Linked DNA regions of Homo sapiens: regions 1, 2, 3, 4, 6 and 7 are each linked to region 5. The links are contacts of gene promoters, found by promoter capture Hi-C in blood cells and fetal thymus (Javierre and others, 2016). All regions are on one chromosome and are shown on one strand. Each heading gives the region's core, a stretch centred on a gene start or on the middle of the fragment in contact. The rest is flanking DNA. Distances are from core to core; before and after follow the strand shown.

Region 1 (3,583 bases), core at 412-2,911, 4.0 Mb after region 5:
AGTACAATTACGGCAGTGGAATCAAATAGGCTCTCCTGCAATCTCAAACTTGCTTATACTTTAACTCATATATGGTTAGGTTTCAAACACGTGGGAGAGACAGAAGAACCCTAGGAATTTAGAGATGGAACTTGATAAAGGCATTTCTCAGAAGAATTTCAGACAGCAGGAACTTGACTTCAAAGGTTGGTGTGACGTGGGCAGACACAGAGGGGGAAGCACAGCCCAAGTACGAGCGGACGGCAGGATGGGTGGAGGCAGCAATGCAATGGAGTGAGGAGAGGAAGTGTGGGTGAGTCAGCAGAAGGATGTGATGAGGCGGAGAATGGGGGCACTCGCGTGGGGACAGAGGAAAGGCAGGAAGGTCAGATTGGGCCATGTTGTTCATGTACGATCTTCATGTCAGATGAAGAAGTTAGATCTTTAGCTCAACGGTTATATGGAACTATTGAGAGTTTAAAAATGATATTTATAGCCTTTATAATTTTTCAAAGCAAGTGTGCCCACTGTGAAATATTTGGAAACCAAGGAAGACACAAAGCTAAAAGACTATCTGTAACTCTCTCTTTGTTAATATTTGGAATATATCTTTCAGTCTTCATACCACACACATAAATTTTCCCCCAAAACAATATTTACTGTATTTTATATAATAATTATAGAGTATTTTAATGTTTCGGTTTTGTCATTTATTATAGTACATGTCTATTATAAATAAATAACAAAATAGAAGCAAAAACACTAAAAGCAAAACTAAAATTATAAAAATTCTAGGCTCTTACTATTATTTTTATTGTATATGTGTATGTGTATATATGCATCCTTTTGAAAAAATATAGATCCCGTTAAAAAATAGAATAATAATTTACCTACTGTTTAAGACCCTATACTCTTCTCTTAATATATCAGGAAAATCTCGATATGTTGACATGTGCATTTTTATAGCAAAATTTAATACCTGCATCCTATACAAAATAATTTATACGATCTCATATTTTTAAATTGCCTTTATGTCTTTGTTGAAAATCAGTTAATTATGTAAGTATAGGTCTATTGCTGGGCTATTTCATTGACCTATTTGTCTATCTTGATTGAATATCATAATTTTGATCAATGTAACTTTATACCAAGATGTGAAGACAGGAAGTAAAAGTTAGATAACTTAGTTCTTCTTTTTAAAAGTTGTTTTGGCTATTCTATGCCCTTTGCATTTCCACATGAATTTTAGAGTTAGCTGTCAACATCTACAGATGAGCCTGCTGAGATTTTAATTGGGATTTCATTATATCTGTAGATCAAATAGGGAGAATTGATATTTTAGTCATGTTTATCCAAACACATGCCATTTATCTCTATTTACTTAGACTTTAATTTCTCTCATTATGTTTGCTAGTTTGCAATATACAGGCCATGTTCATTTTTTTCATATTTATCCCTAATATGCATATTTAATGGCATGTTTTTATGCCAGTATAAATGGTATTATGTTAATTTTAATTATGTATGTATGTATGTACCTAGTATATAGAAACAGACTTGATTTTTTATATTGATCTTGCATCTCCCAACTTTGTTAAACTCACTTATTAGATGTAATACATATATATAAATTCCATAGGGTTTTCTAGGTAGATGATCGTTTCATCTGTGGATAAAGAAAATTTTATTTTCTTATGTCCAATCTGGATATCTCTTATTTCTTTTTCTTGACTGGCTGGACTGGCTAAAGCCTCCAGGACAATGTTGAATAGAAGGGAGAGAGTAGACATCCTTGCCTGTTTCCTCATATTAGGGGAAAACATTTCATCTTTCATCATTAATAAGACGCTAACAGTACAGTTTCGTAGATGCCCTTGATCAGGTTGGGGTTGTTCCTTTTATTCCTATTTTGCTGACTGTTTTTATTGGGATTAGATTTTGGGCATTTGTCAAATGCTTTTTCGTCATCTCTTTTTTTTTTTTCCCCAGTCTGTCAACATGGTGAATTACATTGATTGTTTTTCAAATGTTAAATTAACCTTGCATCCCTGAGATAAACCCGACTTGGTCATGATGTATTATCCTTTTAATAAATTGTTTATTATTTTATTTGTTATAATTTGGTAAGAATTGTTGTCTCTCCGTTCGTGAGGAATAACGTTCTGTAGTTTTCTTATAATATCTTTTTCTGGCTTTAATGTAATAATGCTGGCCTCGTGGAATGAGTTGGGAAGACTTCAATTTTCTGGAAGAGTTTGGGTTGCAAGGCTATTATTTCGTCCTTAAATGTTTCATAGAATTCACCAGTGAAGACATCTGAAAATGGAATTTTCGTGGAAAGTTTTAAAGCTCTAAATTTAATTTCATTCATTGATATAGTGCTCTTCAGGTTATCTATTTCTTCATGAATGAGCTTAGTAGAATAGTTTGTATCTTTTAAGGAACTTGAAATTCTTTTTTCTTAAGGTGGAAGCTGATGTCATTGACTTGAGACTTCTTCTTTTTTAATTTAGATATTTAGAGCAAAAATTTCCTTATGATTACTGCCTTAGTCGTAAACAATAGATTTTCATATGTCTTTTTTATTTTCATTCAGTTTTTAAAAATCTTAATTTTTTGTTTATTTCTTTTTTGACTCATGGGTTATTTAGCAGTGTGTAATTTTCTTTCTAAATATTTGAGTTTTGTCCAGATTACTTTACTGATTTCTAATTTAATTCTATTGTGGTCAGATAATATACTTTGAATGTCTTTTGTCAGGCTTCTTGATTGGAAATGGAAATTTAATCACGTATTTTTGGACTTGCAGTTTCTAATTTTTATGCTACTAAAAACAATTCTTAGATGAAGATGAACTTGGGTTCTTTTTACCCTTTCTTTTTTATTTTCTTAAAAGTCTCAGAAACAAAAGTTTTGAATCAAAGAGTATATAGTTCCTTCTCTAGAATTTATATATACTGTTACATGCCTTGTTTCATGTTTATATTCAATAATTTGCAAATATTTTCTTCAGATCAATATTTTTTCTATAACATATTCTTAACGACTGTATATAATTTTACTTTATTGATACCCCAAATTATATTAACAATACTCTATTGTTGGACATCTAAGCTCTTTCTAACTTGAGGCAAGTTTCCATAATGCTTTTAATAAACTACACTGTAGATCATTAGTCTGTGGGAGAGGATTGGCCTCACGGAAACAATGATTTAGGAAAATTAGTCAGGAACTACTATAGAAGACGGATTTGGGCTGAGAAGGACTGGAAGTAGCAAAATCTGTTCCATACCATTAGGATTGTAATATAATGCTTAAAAATGAGGCTGTGGTAGCAGCAGATGAATGGAGATGTCAGAATGGATGGAAGAAATAGTAAAATGGAAGAATCTATCACACTTAGCCACTGATTTTGGGAGAATTAAAATCAATTTCTATCTTTAAAGTAGTAGCATTTCTAGATAAAATTGAATCTTCACATTTATCTTTAAAATACCTATTTTCTCAGCATTTGTGCTTATTTGTCAAGCAGTAATGTTTTCTAATTACTCAAAAGAGGTTTCATCACAGATGATAAAAGGAAGCCAAGGAAAATATTTTCTAA
Region 2 (3,800 bases), core at 361-2,860, 4.8 Mb after region 5:
GCGCCTGTAATCCCAGGTACTCGGGAGGCTGAGGCAGGAGAATCGCTTGAACCCAGGAGGTGGAGGTTGCAATGAGCTGAGATCGCTCCATTGCACTCCAGCCTGGGGGACAAAAGCGAGACTTCATCTCAAAAAATAATAATAAAATAAAATAAAAAAGACTGGTAAAAAAAAAAAAAGCAGAAAAAAACTGGGCAAGTAGGCAATGATATAGTTTCTGAAAGCATAATTGTGCCATACTAAGGGGTTAGGATGGTTTTGACATGCTTATTTTCCTAATTGCTAATTAATGGCCATTTTAGGATTATATATATATAGGTATATATATAATAATTTGAAAAAATTAGATTTGTCTTGTCAAAACTTCAATGTAGATGACTAATTAAAGGGAGAAAGGGGAGGTATGACTTTATTAGATTTATTTTTCTTACATAAATTTTCTAAATATTCTTGTCATTTTTTAAAATCATTGTGGGTCTCCTATTAGCTTAATATTATTGTGACTCTAAGGTTATACCAATATTATCTTAAAATTATTTAAAATTATTTCCTGTTTTAAGCTTCATTCCTCTGAGATTTATTGTTGCTATGGTATGAGATAGTAGTTCAGATTTATTTTCTTTCAAATTGTGCTCAGCCTCTGTACAGTTTTTCCCCACTGAGTTAAAATGGCAAATTTATCATATATAAATTTTATGCTTTTTCTGTAATCTTTCATTCTACTGATATATATATAAATAAAATCAGTAGATACATATATAAAATCAGTAGATATATTTAGAATAAGTAGATATGTGTAATATATATATATATGTATTTGTGAATTCTTCCTTATATAAACTTGTTCTGTTGTCTTCACTGTAGAATCGATGGGGTGACTTTTTTTCTCTAAACATGCTATAGTTTCAACTGATTCTTATATTATGGAGAAGAATTTTTTATTCGGCCTTCCTTTTATTCCTTTTTAATTCAATCTTCATTTGATTATGAATAACCTGGTTAACAGTTTGTATTTTTTTATGCTTTTAACACTTTTCTAGATCTCTTGAAATTAAAACAAGCAAGCCCCCAGGCTATTATTAAATACCACAGTCTTTTCATTTTTATTTTATCTGGATTATGGTAAGCACTGTTGATATTCTAGGATTTGTTCTCTCACATATGTAGTTTATAGTCTTTGTCAATTTCACTTTTCATTATTACCTTTAACTTACTGATCTTCTAGGAGTGATACGTCAGAGAAGCCTGAGATCACATATTGTAATTTCTGTTTTAAACATAAAAATGCACTCAAAAAACAAAAAAACTTAATTCCGAATCGAAGTAGTTCAAGTTAAATTTTCTTTCAAAGTTCTAATTTTTAAAGGCAGGTCATTTCACAGGACAATCCCTGTATATTACGTTTTAGTATTTTTTTTTTCTTTAGATGGAATCTCGCTCTGTTTCCCAGGCTGGGGTGCAGTGGCATGATCTCGGCTCACTGCAACCTCCATCTCCTGGGTTCAAGCAATTCTCCTGCCTCAGCCTCCTGAGTAGCTGGGATTATAGGTGGGTGCCACCACGCCTGGCTAACTTTTGTATTTTTAGTAGAGACGGGTTTCACCATGTTAGCCAGGATGGTCTCGAACTCCTGACCTCGTGATCCGCCCACCTTGGCCTCCCAAAGTGCTGGGATAACAGGCATGAGCCACTGCGCCCGGCCTACGTATGAATTTAATCATAAATGCCCTTCCCCATTCTTCCATATAGTATTTTACACTGGTGAACCTTTGTAAAATATATACAGTTGCTCGTTAGTAGACATAGGAATTCTACAAGGATTTTTAAAGGACTTATATTAGATAATTCTATTGCATACTACCTTTAAAAAGAGGCGTTCTTTTGTGTTTAAATTCGCCCTCTGGTGTTTAGTACATAGCAGAACATTCTAGGTGCTTTGTTTACTCACTGACGGGTGCTGAGGACACTGACTGCTCCAAATTTTCTATGTAAAAGGAACTTACGAACGGCAATTTAATTTAAAGACATAGCTACTTTTGGTATGATAGGCGTGCTGGTTTGTTTTGGGGAAGCAGCATTAAGACACTGAGGAGACATTAAAGCACTGTGAAGCCGCTTCTTGCCGTGGCTTCTTGCAGGATATGCAAGTATGTACAATATTCGAAACAAATCATTACTATGTTCTTTAAAAACGAATAAAGGTCTTTCACACAACATTGCATTTATTCTTTAGAAATTGAACACAAATGTGGTGGAGACGGGACAGGGCAGGTGGAAATTCACTTATAAGTCCTGATTGGCTAAGCCCTGGTCACGAGACCGTAAAAGAGCAACGTCTGTCTCAGAGCGACTCCCACAGCGTCCTTAGCAACCAGCCTTGGTTCCCAGCGGCTCAGAGCGCAGCGGTGAGTGATTAAGAGGTCCTGCTTCAGATGATTTGGGAGCTCAGGTTATTGTCATATTCACCATCCTAGGGCAACTGAAAGACCCACAAAGATCCTCACAGGGGAATACTGAGCCTCCTTTCTCAGGGTGCCATAGCTTTGTTAGAAGAAACACTACTCGCAACCCCAGGCTGGGCCTGCTATCTGGGCCCCTCCTAAGAGTCTAAGCAGTCCATCCTGGAAAAGCCACCAGGTCGTTTGATAGGGGAAGCTTTTTTGTTGGGGAGAATAAAGGAGGTGGGAACTTTCTTATTGCTATGAATAGGGAAATTCATTTAATCTCCCCTGGACTCGCTTATCCTGGGGCAACCTTGAATTCAGAAGACCAGTCTTCACACATCCTCTGTGGTTGGTGAAATTGCACCTTTTTGATTTTTATTTATTTATTATTTATTTAGTATGAAGACTCTTGGACTTCAAAAGAGAAGGTTCAAAAATTTGGCGCTCTGTGTGTGTGTGTGTGTGTGTGTGTGTGTGTGAAAGAGAGAGGGGGGTATATTGGAGATGTGTAATAAAACAATTTTTAAAAGCCGTTAATCTTGAGAAAAATATCCAAGTTGTCTATTAGAAAAATTTCTAGGAGGGGATAAGACTGTAGTAAGAGTCTCTTATTTACCTTACCATCTTAACAGTATGTCTGAACAAATTCTATCATTTGGTTGGTCAAATAATTTGCTTCCTCAGGTTAGAGTCTAAATCTTATATTCTCTAATGCATGTTACCTTTCCAAAGTCTTGATATAATTTTAATATTATCTGTTTTTCAGAAATTGTCTTTTAAAGTATACAGTTTCAACCTCATTTTTATTGGAACTTTAAAAAAATACATGAAGAATTAATAGTAAAACTAAAAAAAGAAATCTGGGTCTGTGCCAGGTTGCAGATGAACTGCCAAGCACCCAGGCAGACTGCTGGAGCCATTTCATGAGCTGAAACATTTCTCTTTAAAGTATAAACATTCTTGGTTTGGGTAATCCACATACATACTTGATTGAAGGTAGCAGATTTTTATTTCACTAAGACCTATTCTGCATGGACCCTTATGATCTTAATGAGTAGTGCTATATTCTTGCTGAACGTCTGATTCATTATCAGAATCATTCATTGTTATGATAAATTTGATAAATGTTCCTGTCTTGAAGTTCATTGTCCATCCAGAGCTCCTGGTAAAGTGTCTGCTCACAAATGCTTAACATTTTCCAAAATGTGTCCTGTATGTAGTTCTAGGAGATGATGTTCTAAAGATTTCTTTAGTCAATAAATTTTAAAGTACTACATGTCACACTGCTACTCAGAGAGATGTAGAGTATATATGAGAATATTAACACTGAGAAATCTTAGTATATGCAAACCTACT
Region 3 (3,478 bases), core at 411-2,910, 3.9 Mb before region 5:
GACCTACTACAGTACCACTCTGCTCCTCAAATGTGTTAAGCAAGTTTCTTTTACCCTAAAAAGATCATTAGTTCCACTAAGCAAAAAAAAAAAAAAAAAAAAAAAAAAAAAAAAAAATCACATTTGTTGGGGGAGGATATGAAGCAAAAGATAAATCAACCACCCAACTCAAATAGCTTTCAAATAGGTAGCAAAAAATGGTAAGACTATGATAGTCAAGGGTCAAGTCTTTTCAGCTGAAACTATCAAAATGTTCCAAAGTGTGATACATTTGTACATTTTCCATATAAAATCTAGTTCATAACCCTGGAGGGTTTTTTTTAACATAAATCTTTTCCTTGTTTCTGTCATTTTAAATAAATCAGTGACTCGGACAGTCTATTAACTACAGAAGATTTTTCCTAAAAAGCATTCCCAAAATTTTGTCAAATACGTGCTATATTGGGAATGTACGAATATTGGGAAATCCTTTTCGTTTTTTCTTGAGACAGGGTATCACTGTCACCCAGGCTGAGTGCAGTGACACAATGATAGCTCATTGAAGTCTCAAACTCCCAGGCTCAAACCATCCTCCTGCCTCAGCCTCCTGAGTAGCTAAGACTACAGGCATGCACCACCACACGTGGCTTTTTTTTTTTTTTTTTGGCAAAGACAGCGGGCCTTGCTATGTTGCCCAGGCTGGTCTTAAACTCATGGCCTCAAGCAATCCTCCTGCCTCAGCCTCCCAAACTGTTGGGATTACAGGCGTGAGCCACTGCACCCAGCCAGGATCCAAGGAATTCTAAAACACACTTAGATCCGATAAAAAGTATTCTATAAGTAGGTAAATAGATAACTAAGTACAAGGTACCAAATTATCAGGCATCAATAGCCTGAAAATAGAACCACGTGTTTGTGAGAATGCCTGTTACCCCACATTCTCACAACATTGGTTATTATCATTGCCTTCAGTCTGACAATTACATGATTATAATTTGTAGCTCATTATTTTAGTCTACATTTTTTTGAGCACTAGTAAAGTAATATTTTATTTTCATGGCTTATATTTATATTTATTATTGTTTTGCCTATTTAGTTCACATTTTATTTGGGATACTTGCTTATAGATTTGTAAATGTCCTTTATTTATAAAAGATCTTAATTCTTTGTTACATAAGATATGAATCATAAATTCCTTTACTGAAATGTTGAGAGAGAAATAAAGTTCATATCTGAGCATCAATATTACTTGATGACTATTATGTACATTGCTTTTTACCCCATCTCAGGGTAAAAGTTAGTCCTTACTCTGAACTAAAGGTCCTATGTGATCTGGCCTTCTAGGACCCCTCTGCCCTCATCTCTCACTTTTGTCTCCCTTATGACCTTGCTCGCTATATAACCACACTGGCTCCCTTCCTAACCCTAAAACATACCATGCCTGCTGCAGCCTCAGTAACCTGGCTTCAGCTGCTTCTTCTGCCAGGGATGCCGCGACAGCAGATCTCCTCAAGGCGCACTCCTTCACTTCCTGCAGTCTCTCCTTAAAGCATTTTCTGTTCCATTCACTCATTTTTTTCTCCACAGCACCTACATCTATTATATTTTTACATATGTATTTCTTGATTATCTGTCCCTCCACTACTCCCCACTAGAATATATGCACCATGAAAGTAGGGACTCTGTTTTATTCCCACTATATTCCTCTGGCATCTAGAACAGTGTTTGCTACATAATAGACGCTTAATAAATACATGTTAGATGAATAAATGAATCTATTTGATGTTAAGTCTATTAACCTTATTACTTTTTTTAAAACTGGCAAATGACAAAATAACGACTTGCTAAGAACTACTCTAGCTCTTAAAATGACAAATAGCTAAGAGCTACTCTAAATTTATTCAAAGGTTTTCCCCCATAATCCAGATTGGTGATAGTCATGGAGGTATCCAAGGGAGATGTGGGTATTTCATGTACGGCTCATTTATTATCAGCTGGAATTCACATGTGCCTTCTTATGATCTTTCTCCCTGTATTATATCAGTTTCACTTATTCAATCAGTATATATTCTTGATTACTAAGTACTATACTTACCGTTGCGGAGAGTGTATCAGTGCCTAAAGCAGCCTGGGATGGTTTAAATATTTAGCCCCTCCAAAACTCACATTGAAATTTAATCCCTGATGTGACAGTATAGAGATGTGGGGCCTTGGCCGGGCACAGTGGCTCACACCTGTAATCCCTGCACTTTGGGAGGCCGAGGCGGGCGGATCACGAGGTCAGGAGATCGAGACCATCCTGGCTAACACAGTGAAACTCCATCTCTACTAAAAATACAAAAAAAAAAATTAGCTGGGCACGGTGGCAGGCACCTGTAGTCCCAGCTACTTAGGAGGCTGAGGCAGGAGAATGGCGTGAACCCGGGAGGTGGAGCTTGCAGTGAGCCGAGATAGCGCCACTGCAGTCCGGCCTGGGCAAAAGAGGGAGACTCCCTCTCAAAAAAAAAAAAAAAGAGATGTGGGGCCTTTAAAAAGTGATTGAATTGTGAGGGCTCTGCCCTTATAAATGCATTAATCTATTCATGGACTAATAGATTAATCGGGTAATGAATTAACAGGTTATCATGGGAGTGAGACTAGTGGCTTTATAAGAAGAGGAAAAGAGACGAGAGCCAGCACACTCAGCCTCTTGCCCTGTGACGCCCTGTGCCATCTCGGGACTCTACAGAGTCCCCACCAGAAAGGAGGCCCTCCTCACCAGATGTAGCCCCTCAGCACTGGCCTACTCAGCCTACATAACTATAAGAAATAAATTCCTTTTTTAAAATACATTACCCGGTTTTAAGTGTTCTGTTATAAGCAACAGAAAACAGACTAAGACACAGAGCTTTTCCTTTAAGCATCTAGGAGAAACATGTATAAGGGGGCTAGGATGTGCCTTGAGTCAACAAGACCTCAGTCAACAAGACCTTCACTTTGATATATCCAGTTCTTGAGCAGAGTGAGTCATATATGGTAAGCAGGGACTGATATTGGTTCCTTTCTCTTCCCTTTCCGAAAGTCTTTAATTTTTTGTCATTTACCCTCACCATAATCCCGGAAGTTAGCTAAGACAGCTATAAACAGAGAGGTCATATAATTAGGCAGCAGAGCCAGGATTTAAAACTTGGCCTGACTTCAAAGGCAATGCACCTTGCCCACTACAGTTCACCTTCCAGCTGTCAAGATCCCATAGGGGTTAAAAACAATGGCTCTAGCATCAGGCCACAGGAAGTTAAGACTCAGCTTTACCATTATTATGTAACTGTAGCACGGAAAAGTCATGTCAATCTTACTTAAAAAGATTGTAATTCAATTTACCCAAAGGTGTTACTTCAGTTCAAGAGTAGAACTCCCTTTCTTTTACTAAGGAGTTCTTTTTGCTCCTTTTTGTCAGTCCTTCTTGTGTTTATGTCCTCAAAATAAAACTTACTATTCAGAGAACTAGATATAGCTCACC
Region 4 (3,929 bases), core at 684-3,183, 3.8 Mb before region 5:
ACCATTCTCATTGCACAAGGACTGTCTGAGAGTGACAGTGCAAGAGCACAGGGGAGTTAGGAGGCTTCTGAGGCTACCCAGAAGAGAAGTGATGGTGGGAGAAGCAGTGAGATTTAGGATGTGCGTATTTGCTAGGGCAAGTGGAAAGAACTTGCTGCCAGGTGAGCTGTGTGATGAGTGAACAGAGGAATCAGGATGCCTCCTGGGCTTGTGGCCTGAGAGCTGCATGCACGAAAGGCAAACCCAGGAAGGAGCCAGTGTGGGGTAAAGGGCATGCAATCAAGATGCCTATTTCTAGTGGAAATGTAAAACAGACAACAGAATAATCACATCTGGAGTTTGGGAAAAATGTGTTAAATACATTAATTTGGAAGTTATTAGTATTGTATTTATCCTCCAGGACTAGAAATCATCCAGATTCTCAATCTTGGCTGTATGCTGGTATACCCAGTAACAAAATATGAACAAAAAAAACCAATTCAAACCAAAACAAAACAAAAACTGATGCCCACAAGTCTTCCCCAAAGGTTCTCAATTAACTAGACTTGGTATCCAAGTCTAGTCTTTTTTTTGAGATGGAGTCTCACGGTGTTGCCCAGGCTGGAGTGCAGTGGCTCGATCTCGGCTCACTGCAAGCTCCGCCTCCCGGGTGCACACCATTCTCCTGCCTCAGCCTCCTGAGTAGCTGGGACTACAGGCACCGGCCACCACGCCCGCCTAGTTTTTTTGTGTTTTTAGTAGAGACGGGGTTTCACCGTGTTAAACAGGATGGCCTCAATCTCCTGACCTTGTGATCCGCCCACCTCGGCCTCCCGGAGTGTTGGGATTACAGGCATGAGCCACCGTGCCCAGCCAAGTCTAGTCTTTTTTAGTTTTTTGTTTTTCGTTTTTTGTTTTTTTTTTAGCAGGTTAAGAACCCTAGAGACAGTGTAGTATGAAGAAGAAAGTCAAGGACTAAGCCCTGGGGCAATTCCATCTGTAGAGGCCCTTGGAGAGAACAGTTATTCAGGTAGGAGAAAAAAAGGGGATGTGATGCCCTGGAAGTCAAGTCAGGACAGTGCTTCAAAGGGAAGTGAGGGGGTGGGGGTGGTTACAAGGTCATACTACAAAAAGAAAAAGAAGGGGGCCGGGATGGATGATGCCAACTACTACTGAGAGACTGAAAAAGATGAGGACTAGAACAGGCCATGGGATTTGTTAAAATGGAGGTCTTTGGTGACCTTAACAGAAAGGGTTTTTGAGGAGTAGTGGAGTGGGGAGGGGCAGCAGGAAGGGGAGATTGTACACACCCCAGGAGACAAGTCTTCTAGCAGTTCTGCCAGAATGGGCAGGAGAGAAGTGCCATAGAGCTGGAAGGCTACATTGAATAGAGAAATTTCTTTAACTTGTTTTTTAAGAAGGGTGATAAAAAGGCATGTTCTGATGGTGATAGGGATGTTTCCATAACTGGAAAGAAATTGATGTGCAAGAGAAAGAATATAATTGCAGGAGGACTTGAAGAAGTTGGAGAGAAAAAGCCTTTAGGGACCCTGAACCAATGAATCTGAAATTCCCCAACTGCCAGATGTATCTTCATTTTTCATTTTCCGGGAGATGTAATATGTCCTAAAAATCACAGTCGCTAGATTGAAATCAACCTTAAAAATCATCTAGTCCAATGTCTACTCCCAGTCCACTACTTGAATCCCCTGTGTCCCCTCCCAGTAGTCGTCTTGACAACCTCCACTGAAAGGCAATTTCTACACTCCATCCACCCCACCACCAACCCATGGTTCATGATCTCTTCGGACACTCCTTGAACTGAACAGAAATCTGTTTTCCTGTGCTTCAATCCACTGGTTCTGGTGCTGTGCCTTCGGGATACACAGAACATGTCTAATCCCTCTTTCACATCTTTCAAACAAACGAAAACTAGTAACTCCTGTCCCACCTTGTTAATTATGTACTTCCTAAACCAAGCCAGTTCTTTTCACATGTATGGACAAACAGATTCTATTCTAGAAAATATCTAGACATGGGCTACAAATCCACCTCGGCGTTCTTTAACATAAAGAAGGTACTGTCAAGCATAATAGAATAAAAGGTGCACCAATATACATAGAAATAACCCATAATAATCCTGGTTACCAAGAAACCAGAGAGGTTCCAGGCTAGTTGGACTTAATCCACTCAATCCTTAAGCACTCATTTAATTATCTCTCTCTCCATCTTGTTCCCCAATTCTAGCAGAGAACTCTCCCACAACATGTGTGTACGCATACACACCACACACTCAACATATGCACATTCACTCAGACTCTCAGATAGGAGAAAATTTGACCATCAACAGCTGCCGTGTTATTAAGCACACGTTGGAATGTTCTCATTAAATCAAGTTTTTAGGAAAGGGTCTCTACAGTATTAACTGATTATTTTCTCGAAACCTCATGTTGGAATACAAACTCCAAAGCCAGAAGAAAAACCTAAATGTTTACATATCCAAACGGATTATTTTATTTCATCTTATCTTATTTCAGGGACAGGGTCTCACTTCATTGCCCAGGCTGAAGTGTAGTAGTGCCATCACAGCTCACTGCAGCCTTGAACTCCTGGGTTCAAGTGACTCTCCCGCCTTCACCTCCCAAAGTGCTGGAATTATAGGTGTCAGCCACCACACCTGGCCAAGAATACTTTTAATGCAATTATAAATTAAGTTAAAAGCACAGTTACAAAAGCCAGGATTAGACTACAATTAAAGTATCCCTTGAATTATGGAGTCACTGCTAATATTCAATGAAGAAACAGGTATGTTGTTCCAAAACTGAAGGAGTATTCATGCCAAATATCATATGAGCTGTTATTCTTCTAGTCTTATTTTAAAACATTCCAACCACTGGAAGTGAAAGGGACCCAAACACGTAAGAGTACTGGCTTAGTGTCTCAAATAACCCTATAATAGGCTAAAACAATTTTTAAAACCAGTATAGTAATTAATGCAAAATGCACATGGTAGGTTCTGAAATGTTTTCTGAATTAATAAACTGCATTACGCTGGAGTCAAGGGTTCATGAGATGGTGAGGAGGAAGGGGAGGAGGGGCAGGAAGAGGGACAGGAGAGGGGAGGGGGCAGGAGGATGCGGGGGGAGGAAGAAAAAAAACTGAAAAACTATAACAGGTATCACTCCAGATTCATATGTACATCAATTTAGTTCTAGGCTAGGCACAGTGGCTCATGTCTGTAATCTCAGCATTTTGGGAGACTGAAGCACGAGGTTCACTTGAGTCAAGGAGTTCAAGACCAGCCTGGGCAACATAGGGGAACCCCGTCTCTACAAAAATAAAAAATAAAAAAAATTAGCCAAGCATGATGGCACATGCATATAGTCCCAGCGACACAGGAAGCTGACGTGGGAGGATTGCTGGAGCCCAGGAGGTCAAGGCTGCAGTGAGCTGTGATCACATTACTGCACTCCAGACTCCAGCCTGGCTAACAGAGGGAGACCTGTCTCAAAAAGAAATCCATTCTAGAACAAAAGGCTGATATAGAGCACTAAAGGTACCACTTGAAATCCCCGTTTAAAGGGACAAACTGAAAAAAAAAAAGAAGTGTCAATCAATCACCTGCAAAAGATCAATGAATTCAGAGCATTTCAAGAGCTGTGACTACTTTGATCAGTTTTGGGGAAGAAAACAGTTTGACTATAATTAATGTTTGACTATAATTAATTAATATAATTAATCAAGGTGGTAAGTCAATTAAATTCACCACCTTGATTAAAGACTAAATTTGACAACTGCATACAAGAAAAAAACACAACTTATTTATGACGAAGATCTTTTATGTGTCCCACACTCTGGAAAAGTGGATGTGTCCAAAGGAAATAAAGATCATGATATCAACTATATAAGGTAGGGCTGGGTGCAGGAGCTCACGCCTGTAATCCCAGCAC
Region 5 (3,431 bases), core at 788-3,287:
CTGCCACCTCAGCCTCCTGCATGCCATGCCTGACTAATTTTTTGTGTGTGTGTGCGTGTGCGTGCATGTGTGTGTGCGTGTGTGTGGAGTTGGGATTTCACCATGTTGTCCAGGCTGGTCTCGACCTCTTGGGTTCAAGCAATCTGCCTGTCTCAGCCTCCGAAAGTTCTGGGATTACAGGTGTGAGCCACAGCAGAAATTGGTAGCCTTTAAACTAAGTGTCCGTCTATCCCTTAACAATCCCATGAGGGATACAGAGCTCAGTTTGAAGATGGCTGATGTGAATGTTTACATCTTATTGAATTAGGTGAGAGAGACAGGTCAGCTCAGGTTAGGCCTTGGTTGGGACACTGTACACTGTTATCTGTACCCTGGGAGAGTATAGAACTGTGACATATGCTGGGGATAAAACAGCCAGTCCTCTTGGCTGGTTAATTTTTATGGATGGTCAATCTTATCCTTTATACTCTATTCTTTTATATTTTCTTCTCAGTGGCAATTACCTTAACTTCAGTTTTGGGAATCTGATGTTGAGTGTAGTCTGATACTGACTACCTAAGGGAAATACTATGCTATACTTAAAAATTATTAAGACTGTAAAAACATAAGAAACGTTTAGAGTATAGAAAGGAAAAGCAAAATATATAGTTGTATGAAAATTATTTCAATTATGCAAAACTACATAAACTTCTGAACAACACTACAATATACAAAAATGAAGTTGTGATTTTTTATAAATGTTTTTAGTGCTGCATGACTTCTAACATAACGTTATGGATTACATATGCTGAGGGTCAGACTGCCTACTGTAATATTCTATTTCTCCTAGTGGTACTAAGGAATTATGTGAGCTTAAGTTCCCTCAAACAAAGTGATTGAAGGTCCATTTTCAAAAATTCTGTTTTCTCATCAGGATTCATTATGGGCGTTATTTCCCAAACACATTTAAACTTTTTCATCCTAGTTTAATGCAACGTAGGTTTTAGCATCAAATTCCAGAGGTTTATCAACTACTATATGAAGAAGTAATTCTTTTCATTCATATATATAACCTTTTAAGCTTTAGTTCCCGATTTATTACTCAGAGCTCAAGAACCTGACCTCATTGACTTTACATTGCTCTTAGGGTTTACCATTCCTCGTAGCCTTTATGCTTTTTAGAGGCTACTTTAGAAAGAGAGTCAGTTTGACAGCCTCCAAAACTAATCACATTTTCTGAAATTTCAGTTTCCTCCGTGTGTGTTCTGAGGTGTAATTACGAGCTTGGTAATTTCCAGGGCCCACCAAAGTAAGGACGGAAGACTAGTCCGAGAGACTTCACGTGTGTGAGGGTAATACTGGTCCGCACCCAAATTTGAATTTTAGCTCCCATGATTCCCACATATTGTGGGAGGGACCTAGTGGGAGATAATTGAATCAAGAAGGCTGTTTCCCCCATGCTGCTCTGGTGGTAGTGAGTACGTCTCAGGAGAGCTGATTGTTTTATATGGGGTTTCCCTTTTTCCTTGGCTCTGATTTTCCTCTCTTGCCTGCTGCCATGTAAGACGTGCCTTTCCCCTTCTGGCTTGATTGTGAGGCCTCCCCAGCCACGTGGAACTCTGAGTGCATTAAATCTTTTTATCTTTATAAATTACCCAATCTCGGGTATGTCTTTATCAGCAGCGTGAAAACGCACTAATACACTTCCCTTCTGGGGTCTCTGAGATGGGACCGAAAGATTCCCTAAGGGAGCACCCCGAAAATCCGAGAGGAGAAGAGCCAGCGAGATCTCAGAACTCGAGCTGCCTCGGGCCGCTTCGATGGGCACAGATCCGCCCCCTCGCAGCGCCCCGCCCCCCAGCGCGTTGCACGCAGGCACGTCCTCCCAGTAGTTCAGGCCCCGCCCCCTCCCCGTCGCCCCACCCCGGCCGCGACGCCCCGCCCCGCGCCTAGGCTGTTGCTGGCCGCGGCCGCCGCCCTCCCCCGGCCCAATGGCGTGGCGGCACAGTCAGTGATGTGACGCTCAGGCTTGTCCGGCCCCCGGCTCGCAGCCCATTACACCATCCGTCGCAGCAGTCGCTGCAGCCGCTGCAGTCCGAGCCGACTAAGGGCGGGAGGCAGCTCGGGTGGCGGGGCGTGGCGAACAGCGCGGCCGGATTCATTCCTTTGGGGCGCGGAGCATGGAGGAGCTGTGCGGCCGCAGGCGGAGCAGGGCGGCCCGGGCGGCGGTGGGGACAACGGTTTCCCTTTGAAGGGGACGGACAAAGCCCGAGTGACCAGCGGCGGCGGGGAGGACTAGTCCCCGGGCAGGTAGTGGCGGCGGCAGCGGCCTGCCAGGGCTCGGGCCGGGGCCTGAGGTGCCCGCGGAAGGCCTGGGCGGGAAGGAGGGCGCCGGGGGAGCCGAAGGCGGGCAGCGGGCTGGAGGCCACAGCTTGGCCCATCGGGAGGGGGTTGTGGTCGATGGAGGAGATTGGGAGGGGGCTGCCGTTGTCTGGAACAGGGAGAGGGGAAGGTTGTGTTGGGGCGACTGTGGTTTGAGGAACCTGCGGATCATCCCTTGGCGGGGGGTGGGGGGTGATCGAAATGGGGCGGGCGAAGTTAATGACTAAAAGGCAGGCGGATTTCCTGAGAGCCGTGAGTAGTTTTAAAGGAAAGAGAATCTTTCGGGGCACAGTTTTGGCCTTAGCCGGGGTTTGGTGTGTCCGACCTTTTTGTTCTTTCTCGAAACCCGGCCTCAGGCCTTCCAGCCTGGCGCCCTTGGCCAGCTCTCCTGCAGTTGCAAGAAAGAGAAACATTTCTGAACCCGAGTCTCCTGCCTCTTTCGGTTGTACTCTCCCTGGGCGTGTGCAAAGCAAAACTAGAACAAAGCTTGGCTGGTTAGAGCTGGAGGCGAGAAAACGGGCTGCCTGTAGTGTTTAAATTTTCCGCACATGGAGGAGACTGCCTGCGACCAGAACATTTGGGTCTCTGTGTATCCTTCTGTATTTTTCTTTACCACCTTTTCTTTGGGGGTGGGGGGGGTGTGTGGGATGGAGTAGTGCCTGAAGTATAGCTTTTATTCCTTTCTTCCCACAGAAGTGGAAATTAAGAAGTGTTTTGCCTTCTTCTATAGAAAATTAAATGCTGCTACTTTTTTTTTCTTTCTCTAGTTTGGTGCCCTGGTTGTCAGATGTTGGAAAGCAGTAGGACGGAACATACTCTTCGTGGTTGTGTATCCGTTCTGGGGTGCAGCAATTAACATTGGACTTTGGTTCCTGTGACTCTTGCCTGTGTCGATAGAGTTAAACTGGAGCTCTGCTTTGAAAGATAAATAAAGCACAGCCTCTCAACTGGACATAAATGGATCTAAAGACAGCAGTATTTAACGCAGCTCGGGATGGCAAACTCCGGCTTCTCACCAAATTGTTGGCAAGCAAATCCAAAGAGGAGGTTTCCTCCTTGATCTCTGAAAA
Region 6 (3,646 bases), core at 27-2,526, 3.8 Mb after region 5:
AAATCGTATTTTTGAATAATTATTCTTTCATGTTGTTGGGGGAAAATTTTCATAAGATTTTAGTGGATAGCACAGTAATTTTTGGACAGAAGGAAAGAAAACATAGCATTCTTGGTGACTAGAAATTAAACTTCATATAGTTATTTGAAGGTGAAACTCGGCATAGCAAACTTAAAATTATTCAAACCAGCTAATAAAAGCAAGTCTAGATGTTTCCTATTAACCTTGGAATGTGCTTGGAAAAAGCCCTGCTACTCCAGATGTCTAGTATTAGAAAGCATATCAACAGCTTTTACTCTCAATTGTGGTGAATAATACCATTCTAAAATTCACAAGTGCAGTTTGGTGTGCTGGGGCATAATATAGAATTAGTATTCAAGTTTGTTCTTTCTTTTTAAATTCTTAATATATCTTAAAAGTCGGAGAAACATCACAAGATGTCATATTCCTAATTTCTTAGTTACAAATTAAAACCAATTTATATAATGGAATAAGGTGGGCCAGACTTAGAACTCAGATGTGTTAAGTAAATATTTATTCTGGTTCCACTCCAGGGAGGTAAAAGATTTTATTAACATATTTCTTGAATTAATATATTTCTTGAGGTCACAGGGGCAAAGAAAAGCTTATGCAGTGCTTAAATGCCTGAGGGGCCTTTTTGCTGCAAGCTAACAAAGGCTGATTTTTTTTTTTTTCTTCACTAAAGAGAGCAACTATCTTGTATTGTGGCCTTTGCTTTATTATTGTTCACTCACAACTGCATAATCTCAAACCAAGTTTTAAAAAGGCTGCTTTATTTTTTTCCCATTGTTTGGAAAGGCTCTTAGATATTACTTATAAGATTTGTATCCAAGCTTTATTCTTGTGCTTTTTCTCCTGGTTTACTTTGGGCTGTTACCAGCCATTTGTACTTTGTTTTCTCTTCATTGCTGAAAAGAAAAATTGCCCATTAAAAGTCAAGATTTGAAGTGCTGAACTTAATTCCTTGAGTCCAGTCCACAGTTTGGCTCCGATTACTGTACCAGGCTGACCTCCAGTCCAAGGGAGGGTGCCTTGGCAGAAATCTGAGAATTCCTCGATCAGTGACTCCCTTTTTTGGATTTATGGAGTCTTTAGGTGGATTGCTTTGTGCTAAATGTGCTCTTATTGGAAAGGAATGGGGCTGGAATGAGAGGAACACGATGTTGCACAACGTAAATGTTTGCAGCTGACCTCCGTGTTCACTATGCTTGAATTAGCTGGCTGTTGCTGCACCTGGCCTTGAACCATGTACCATCAAAGCCCAGAAAACTCACGTAATGAATGGTTTTAAGTCGTGGTGAAAAAGAAAAGTCGGGTAATTCTGTTAACCTTTTGTGGCTGGCTCCTGACCTGATTTCTTGCCCCCCTTGAAAGTCTTTGCTATTATTCTTAGAAATGAAATTTTAAAACACTCAGCAGCCAAACAAGCAGAATATTACATTGTGGAACAGAGTGACTGTGAAAGCTCTTTGTGCTGACGATTAATTTCACATGTAAACACTTTCATTTTGTTGCCAGCAAGGAGATTTCCTTTTCCTTTCTGTGCCTAGTTAAAGTCTAGAAATAAAATTCCACAGCTGTCAGGTTCCCACATATTCATCAGTGGCCTCTCAAGATGGCTTCACGATGAGCAGAGTGAATTTAGAGGATTCCACTATTAAAGTCTGCAAAGCTTGTTTCAGACACCCCAACTCATAAGATCAAGAATTGTAAATCTTTTGCCTTCCTGACATGTAATGTTGGACAGTAACATCATCTGTGGCATAATATTAATAAAATATGAACGCTTTCTGTGCCCGTAGTGGGAATACACACCCGAAGCGAAGCTAATGCCAATGGGTTTAACCAATTAGTGAGCCATCATTGTCTTCCTTATTGAAACACAGTTGTCTCCCCCAACCTCTATTTGTACATGTTAAGGACTTACCAGGCAATGAAACTCAAGGAGTGTCAGCAGGTGCCACAAAGGCCTTCCTTTCCTTTCTAGCAGGAGGGCATTTATGAGTCTAGAGTGCAGTAGTTGGGTGTTCATAATGCATACTCTGTAATTACCCATTGTTACCACAGCCAGCTCCAGTGTGTGTGTGTGTGTGTGTGTGTGTGTGTGTGTGTGTATGTGTGTGTTTAAATTAGGTCAGTGCATGTTTCGTTTAGCCCCCAAGCCAGAATGCTTGCCAACCTAAGCCCCAGCACTTTTATTCTGCTTTCCAGAATGTGCAGAGGTTACGTACATCATCTGAATGGCCCAGTGTTCTGCAGGCTTACCTTTTTGTCTTCCAGTGGCAACGTGTTTTCCCCACTGTGTGCTTCTTCTCCAAGCAGCATTCACAAGGTTAGGCAGATCTCTAAGACTACGTCTCTAGAGAGACAGCACAGTGCATCATCTTTTGGCACCATCTAATCTTTGATGTAATGTTGTTCAGAGAAAATGATCCTTGTAGCTCATTTATGGTTTCAGTTTACATTTGGCCCTCTCATATGACCAGTAACACCTGGGAACAGAGTGGCTTTTGAGGGAGATTCTTTATAGCACCACCTCAAAGGGTTTTTGCAGAAAGGAAGTGTATGTATATGCGCATGAATTCTCCTTGAATTACAGTACTAGGTTTCACAACCTCCTGGCTAGTTAGGCAGAATAAAACATGTACACATGCAGACACATACTATTTAATTGGCAGAAAGATTATGAAATATACCCCTTTGCTGCAGAAAGAATTGATTATACAGGTTGGACCCGTGCTGCCCTAGTCGGCTTTCCTAATTGCAGGAGACAGATACGCATACCCATCCTGTTAAGTTATAAAGGACCCGTGTGTGCATTCTTTAACCCTATAGGACCCCATCAGGGATAAAGAATAACATTACAGTTATGGTCGTTAACAACCAAACCATGCAACATATCTTCATGGCAGATTTCTGAAAATGTATGTTAACTAATGAAGTAAGCAGTATTTATGTGTGTGGTGTATTTAGCCTCTGCAAAAAGATATAATCCTGCCTTTAAGTATCATTCTCATAGAACAGTCTCCCCAAAGAAATATTGATAAAGACAGTAAATGAACAGAGGAAAATACAAATTTAGAAACAGGTAATAAGTAGATATGATTCAAATTTTACCTGCAATGTAGTAGAAGTGATAGGAAACATGTCCGAGAACTTTTAGATTGATTCTGTATTTGGACCATGCCATTGAAAAATAAATAGCAAATTTTGAAATGAAAAGCTTAAAAAGTGTTTGAAAAATAATTTAAGCAATAATCTAGTTTGCATATTTTTTAGGACCTTGGGGGACTGGTCTCTGAATTTTCCCACATTTCATTTTTCTCATTTGGAGCACTAGTTGTCAGCTATTAATAATAGTTTATACTAAGCAATAATTACCGGTGAGCTAATTACTTTATAGACTTTAAAAATGCAGTTATTTTTCATGATGCACTGTCCAAAGAGTAAAACAAGCCTCAAAAGAAAGGAAAGAAGGAAGGGAGGGACAAAACCCTGAGTATTTTATTTCCAATTTGTATGCTGTGATAGAATATTGAAACTTACCCAACTATCAATACATTCAAGAGAATCAGTACGAAATAGCACATTTTCACTATAAGTAATATTTAAATATATAGTGGGT
Region 7 (3,670 bases), core at 248-2,747, 4.0 Mb after region 5:
ACCGCGCTTCCTGGTTCTTAGGAGGTGCACAGACAGCGCAGGGGCAGCCGCGTCCCACCAGGCTTCGCGGAGGTGATGCCAAAGACAAGAGACAAAGTTTTCCCAGGGCTTACTGCCTTCCAAGGTCCCTGCTAAATGTATTAACTCAAATAATTTCTCACCAAATCAGTGTCATTGTTTTCCCGAATTTACACTTGAGAAAGATTACCTTAGATTTTTAGGTTCAGCAGCCAGGACAAAACTTGACAAATATTTGGTGGGCCCAGGTTTTTTATATGAAGTCTTTTCCAGCCTGTGATCAGCTTCCACAGTTTTACAAGAGAGAGCTTTAGGCTCTGAAGTCAGACGCCCTGGGTTGGAATTCTGGCTCCATCACTTATGAACTGTGTGATCTTGGACAAGTGACTCAACCTTCCTGTTGCTATTTTCCCTTTCTGTAAAACAGGGAAAATGTATAGACATTAAGCTACTATTCTCACTTATGGAAGACCTCAAGATATCTAAAGTATGCCCATTTACACCAATCCTAGAGCTTCTGAATAACTAAAATTCCTTTACCATAATGAAACACATTTTCTCAAGGAGGACTATTACTGTTGTGAGGATTAAATAAAATAAATGCAATGTAAAGCAGCCAGAAGGACTGACCATGTAGTAAGTGATCAATAAATGTTATTGTTATTTTTTAAAATCAAGTACAGAGCATTAGGTTTTTTTTTTAATCAAGTATTAGAGCATTAGGGGTTTGAACAGTAAGTTGGCTCACTATTCATATTGTAGAAATATACTTCCATGTTGCATTTCTTTAAATAGTGAGCTCCTGCCAGAGCCAGTCTCAAAAAATGAGAAGCTGCTGTACTTGTCTGAGTTAGAAAACTTAACAGTTCAACATTGATTGGAAATCAAGCATATGCTGAAATTTTTATGTTAGTTAGAAAATATAATTTAATTTACAAAGCTTTGGTTTGTATGACATTGGGGAAAGTCCATGGCATGTTAAACTGAAGCTGTTGACGGAAGTGAAAACCATATTAATCAAGTAATGCAAGGTTAGACCGTTCTGATACCTGCATTTCTTTAACAAGTGAATTCTGACCTAGTCGTACTACAAAAGTCCAAACAGATTTTTATGGCATTCACTTTACATTACAGGTTAAATGTTTTATTATGTTCCATATTTAAAATAGAACCTATGCCATCTCACTGTGACAGATATTTGAGAATAATTGGAGTTGGATTGGTCAAGACTATGGTGCTGATAGATGGCCTCAAGAAAAGTAACTTGAGACAGCTGCCCTCCCTATGATGGCAGCCACTATCACCACTAGTGATAGCTTCAAAAGCATGGGCATAGAAAACATGAACAAAAAGATTAAAGGAAAAACATGGAGGTGGACATTACTCAGCATTTGGCCATGGGACTGACAAGAGTATAAAATCTTTTATATGAACCTATTATATTCTGATAAGGTTAAGTGGTGCCTGTTCTCTCTGACGTGTAAATGTTAGAGTTGGATAATTTCCTGATATAAGGTCAAGATAAGGGAATAAAAGACTGAATTAGTAAAAGGAAGTTCAGAATGGGTTCAGAATGGCATTTAAAACATTTACCTGACATTCTCCACAGTTGGAGATTGCAGGAGGGCAAATTAGGTGTTTTCCTCTCAATTAATGTCAGTACCCTGTTATATTAGGAGAGAGAGCCAAGACCTTGATAACCCATCTCCCCCAACCCTCTTGGTTCTAGAATATATTAATATTTTGAGAAATGCTCAATTATGCCTGTTTACACAGAGGTAGCAGTTTTGATGGCAATGATTATTTCATTATGGACTTAATCTTGATGAAAATAATCCATGCAAGACTTAACTGTTTGGTTAAATACATTGCTGGACATATTTAATCAGAGAGAGCTTTCTGATTTTGTACTTCTTTCTCTTCCTTTCCTACCTCCCACTGCACCACTCTTAAAAAGGCTATTAATAGAATTTTTTAATGTTTTAGTTTTTGTTGTTGTTATTTCTGTTAAAGCTTAAGGGTGGAATAAGTCAATTTGAGAGTAAAATCTGAATTCCATCTGTTTCTGTAGTTCTAGGACCTGGTATATAATAGATGCTTGATAAATATTTAATAGTAGTCCTTCTTGAGAAATGGTGTTTCATTATGGTAAAGGAAGTTTTAGTTATTCAGAAGCTCTAGGATTGGCGTAAATGGGCATACTTTAGATATCTTGAGGTCTTCCATAAGTGAGAATGGTAGCTTATTGTCTATACATTTTTCCATTTTTTATTCACTGTGTTCCTACTGAGTGCTAGACGTAAGGAGAATTAATATTGAACAAGCCAGATTTCCTACCCCCCAAAGATTTTACAGTTAAACGGGAGAAGATAACAAGTGAATAATTACAGTACAGAGTTGCTGTCAGAAAATATTGGAGGGGGAACTAACCCAGGTTCAGGGGAATCCAGGAAAGATAAGTGGAAATTAGGTAATGAAAATATGCCACATTATAAAAGGGCCTGTAAGCTATAGTAAGGAGCTTGAACTTTATACTGATCAGTATGAATTACTAAGTCAAGTACCTTAAAGTTGCAGATTCTCATCTCTTCTAGGTAGCTAGCTTTCTAGGTAACTTTCCGTGCACTGGATTTGCCCAGTGATAATGTTTGCTTATGATAATAATAACTTTCTGTTTCACCTTTGATTTCTATCAAAAAGTTTTGCATAAATACTCTTATCTGCCAACCACAGGAACCTAGCAGGTGACCTTTGGGTTTAAAGAATATGTTTAATCATAGTGATCCCTGTAATAGATAAATTAAATCTCTTTTACAAGCCTTCTGCAAGAACTTCTGCTTGTTTGTGGCATACTCTTGAATAAAGTTATTGAACTGGCTATCAAGTTGACAGCCTCTTGAATGGAAATTAGGTATATTCTTGACTGAGAGACTTTTTGAATGAGCTCATCAACTTTTCATCCGTGGATTGGATCTATACTTATTATATATTTTGCATCACTTACATAGATCCTAAAAGTTATATTGAATTTTCTTTGTATACTTTCCCATGTTTCTACATAATTTTAGTATTTATAAATTTTAATGGCTTATATGCTCTAATTAGTGGTATTTAAATATTGGCTACAACCTTAATTTATTTCTGTCACTTTAATTTTTAGATCAGTTAGTTCTGATCTCTGGCTAGACAACAGAATAATTAGTGAGACTATTTTAAAGGACCTACATTTCTGAGGCCCATTCCAGAACAAAGCCACTGAATTAGACTATTTGGCACTGGGCCCTAAAATCTAACACCTAAAAGCAGCGACAACTAGTACAAAGCATAAAAAGGTGATTCTGATGTGTGCATCCATAGTTGACAACTGCAGCCTTATTCCCATAGAGGGTGATTTCATTTAGATTAGGAGATTTCATTTAGATGTTTTCTTGACCTCCTTTCCAGCAATTTGATGGTTCTGTAATGGGCAACTTTACCCCTAAAACTCTTTTCTTCTTTAGCCTTTTACTGAAGATGGGAGGAATAGAGATAGAATAGTGAAAAGTAGGAATTATGCTAAGAAATTGGTGCCCTGGCACCAAAAGAAGACAAAGACCAAGTAATTCTTGTTTTGAGACAATAACATATCAACAAAATAAGGGCCTACTATGTG

What was found. The method cuts DNA at HindIII sites, captures the fragments that hold promoters and counts their contacts. A CHiCAGO score of 5 or more calls a contact.
Region 1: a fragment that was not itself captured here is called in contact with the fragment with the promoter of FEM1C in region 5 in 2 of 17 cell types (naive B cells and activated CD4 T cells); the score reaches 7.0 in naive B cells.
Region 2: a fragment that was not itself captured here is called in contact with the fragment with the promoter of FEM1C in region 5 in 1 of 17 cell types (naive CD4 T cells); the score reaches 5.7 in naive CD4 T cells.
Region 3: a contact is called between a fragment that was not itself captured here and the fragment with the promoter of FEM1C in region 5, in 1 of 17 cell types (total CD4 T cells). The highest score is 5.2, in total CD4 T cells.
Region 4: a fragment that was not itself captured here is called in contact with the fragment with the promoter of FEM1C in region 5 in 1 of 17 cell types (M0 macrophages); the score reaches 5.4 in M0 macrophages.
Region 6: a contact is called between a fragment that was not itself captured here and the fragment with the promoter of FEM1C in region 5, in 1 of 17 cell types (fetal thymus). The highest score is 5.2, in fetal thymus.
Region 7: a contact is called between a fragment that was not itself captured here and the fragment with the promoter of FEM1C in region 5, in 4 of 17 cell types (non-activated CD4 T cells, total CD4 T cells, total CD8 T cells and 1 more). The highest score is 9.9, in non-activated CD4 T cells.

Annotation. Positions count from the first base shown.
Region 1 is chr5:111,527,123-111,530,705 of GRCh38, reverse strand. The region is part of intron 1 of STARD4-AS1 (STARD4 antisense RNA 1); the gene reads right to left. Among named protein-coding and RNA genes, the nearest start is that of STARD4, 16 kb to the right of the region's middle. RefSeq lists enhancers at 165-214, 1-662. The HindIII fragment of the contact is 5,472 bases long and covers 1-3,583 here.
Region 2 is chr5:110,725,232-110,729,031 of GRCh38, reverse strand. It overlaps TMEM232 (transmembrane protein 232), which reads left to right and starts at 2,361. Exons shown (of 14, transcript NM_001039763.4): 1 at 2,361-2,405. The HindIII fragment of the contact is 2,095 bases long and covers 563-2,657 here.
Region 3 is chr5:119,458,888-119,462,365 of GRCh38, reverse strand. The region is part of intron 2 of HSD17B4 (hydroxysteroid 17-beta dehydrogenase 4); the gene reads right to left. Among named protein-coding and RNA genes, the nearest start is that of HSD17B4, 8.1 kb to the right of the region's middle. RefSeq lists a silencer at 577-794 and an enhancer at 2,940-3,478. The HindIII fragment of the contact is 3,959 bases long and covers 1-3,478 here.
Region 4 is chr5:119,317,860-119,321,788 of GRCh38, reverse strand. It overlaps a transcript of TNFAIP8 not described here. Among named protein-coding and RNA genes, the nearest start is that of TNFAIP8, 36 kb to the left of the region's middle. RefSeq lists an enhancer at 3,209-3,468. The HindIII fragment of the contact is 8,252 bases long and covers 1-3,929 here.
Region 5 is chr5:115,543,381-115,546,811 of GRCh38, reverse strand. FEM1C (fem-1 homolog C) reads left to right here and starts at 2,037. Exons shown (of 3, transcript NM_020177.3): 1 at 2,037-2,289; 2 at 3,129-3,431. The coding sequence starts at 3,319. RefSeq lists silencers at 1,747-2,086, 2,187-2,236, 2,287-2,456 and enhancers at 1,886-2,180, 1,722-2,488. The HindIII fragment of the contact is 1,787 bases long and covers 1,063-2,849 here.
Region 6 is chr5:111,740,314-111,743,959 of GRCh38, reverse strand. The region is part of intron 2 of NREP (neuronal regeneration related protein); the gene reads left to right. Among named protein-coding and RNA genes, the nearest start is that of NREP, 15 kb to the left of the region's middle. The HindIII fragment of the contact is 839 bases long and covers 857-1,695 here.
Region 7 is chr5:111,508,340-111,512,009 of GRCh38, reverse strand. The region is part of intron 1 of STARD4 (StAR related lipid transfer domain containing 4); the gene reads left to right. Among named protein-coding and RNA genes, the nearest start is that of STARD4-AS1, 2.1 kb to the left of the region's middle. RefSeq lists an enhancer at 2,707-2,826. The HindIII fragment of the contact is 1,073 bases long and covers 961-2,033 here.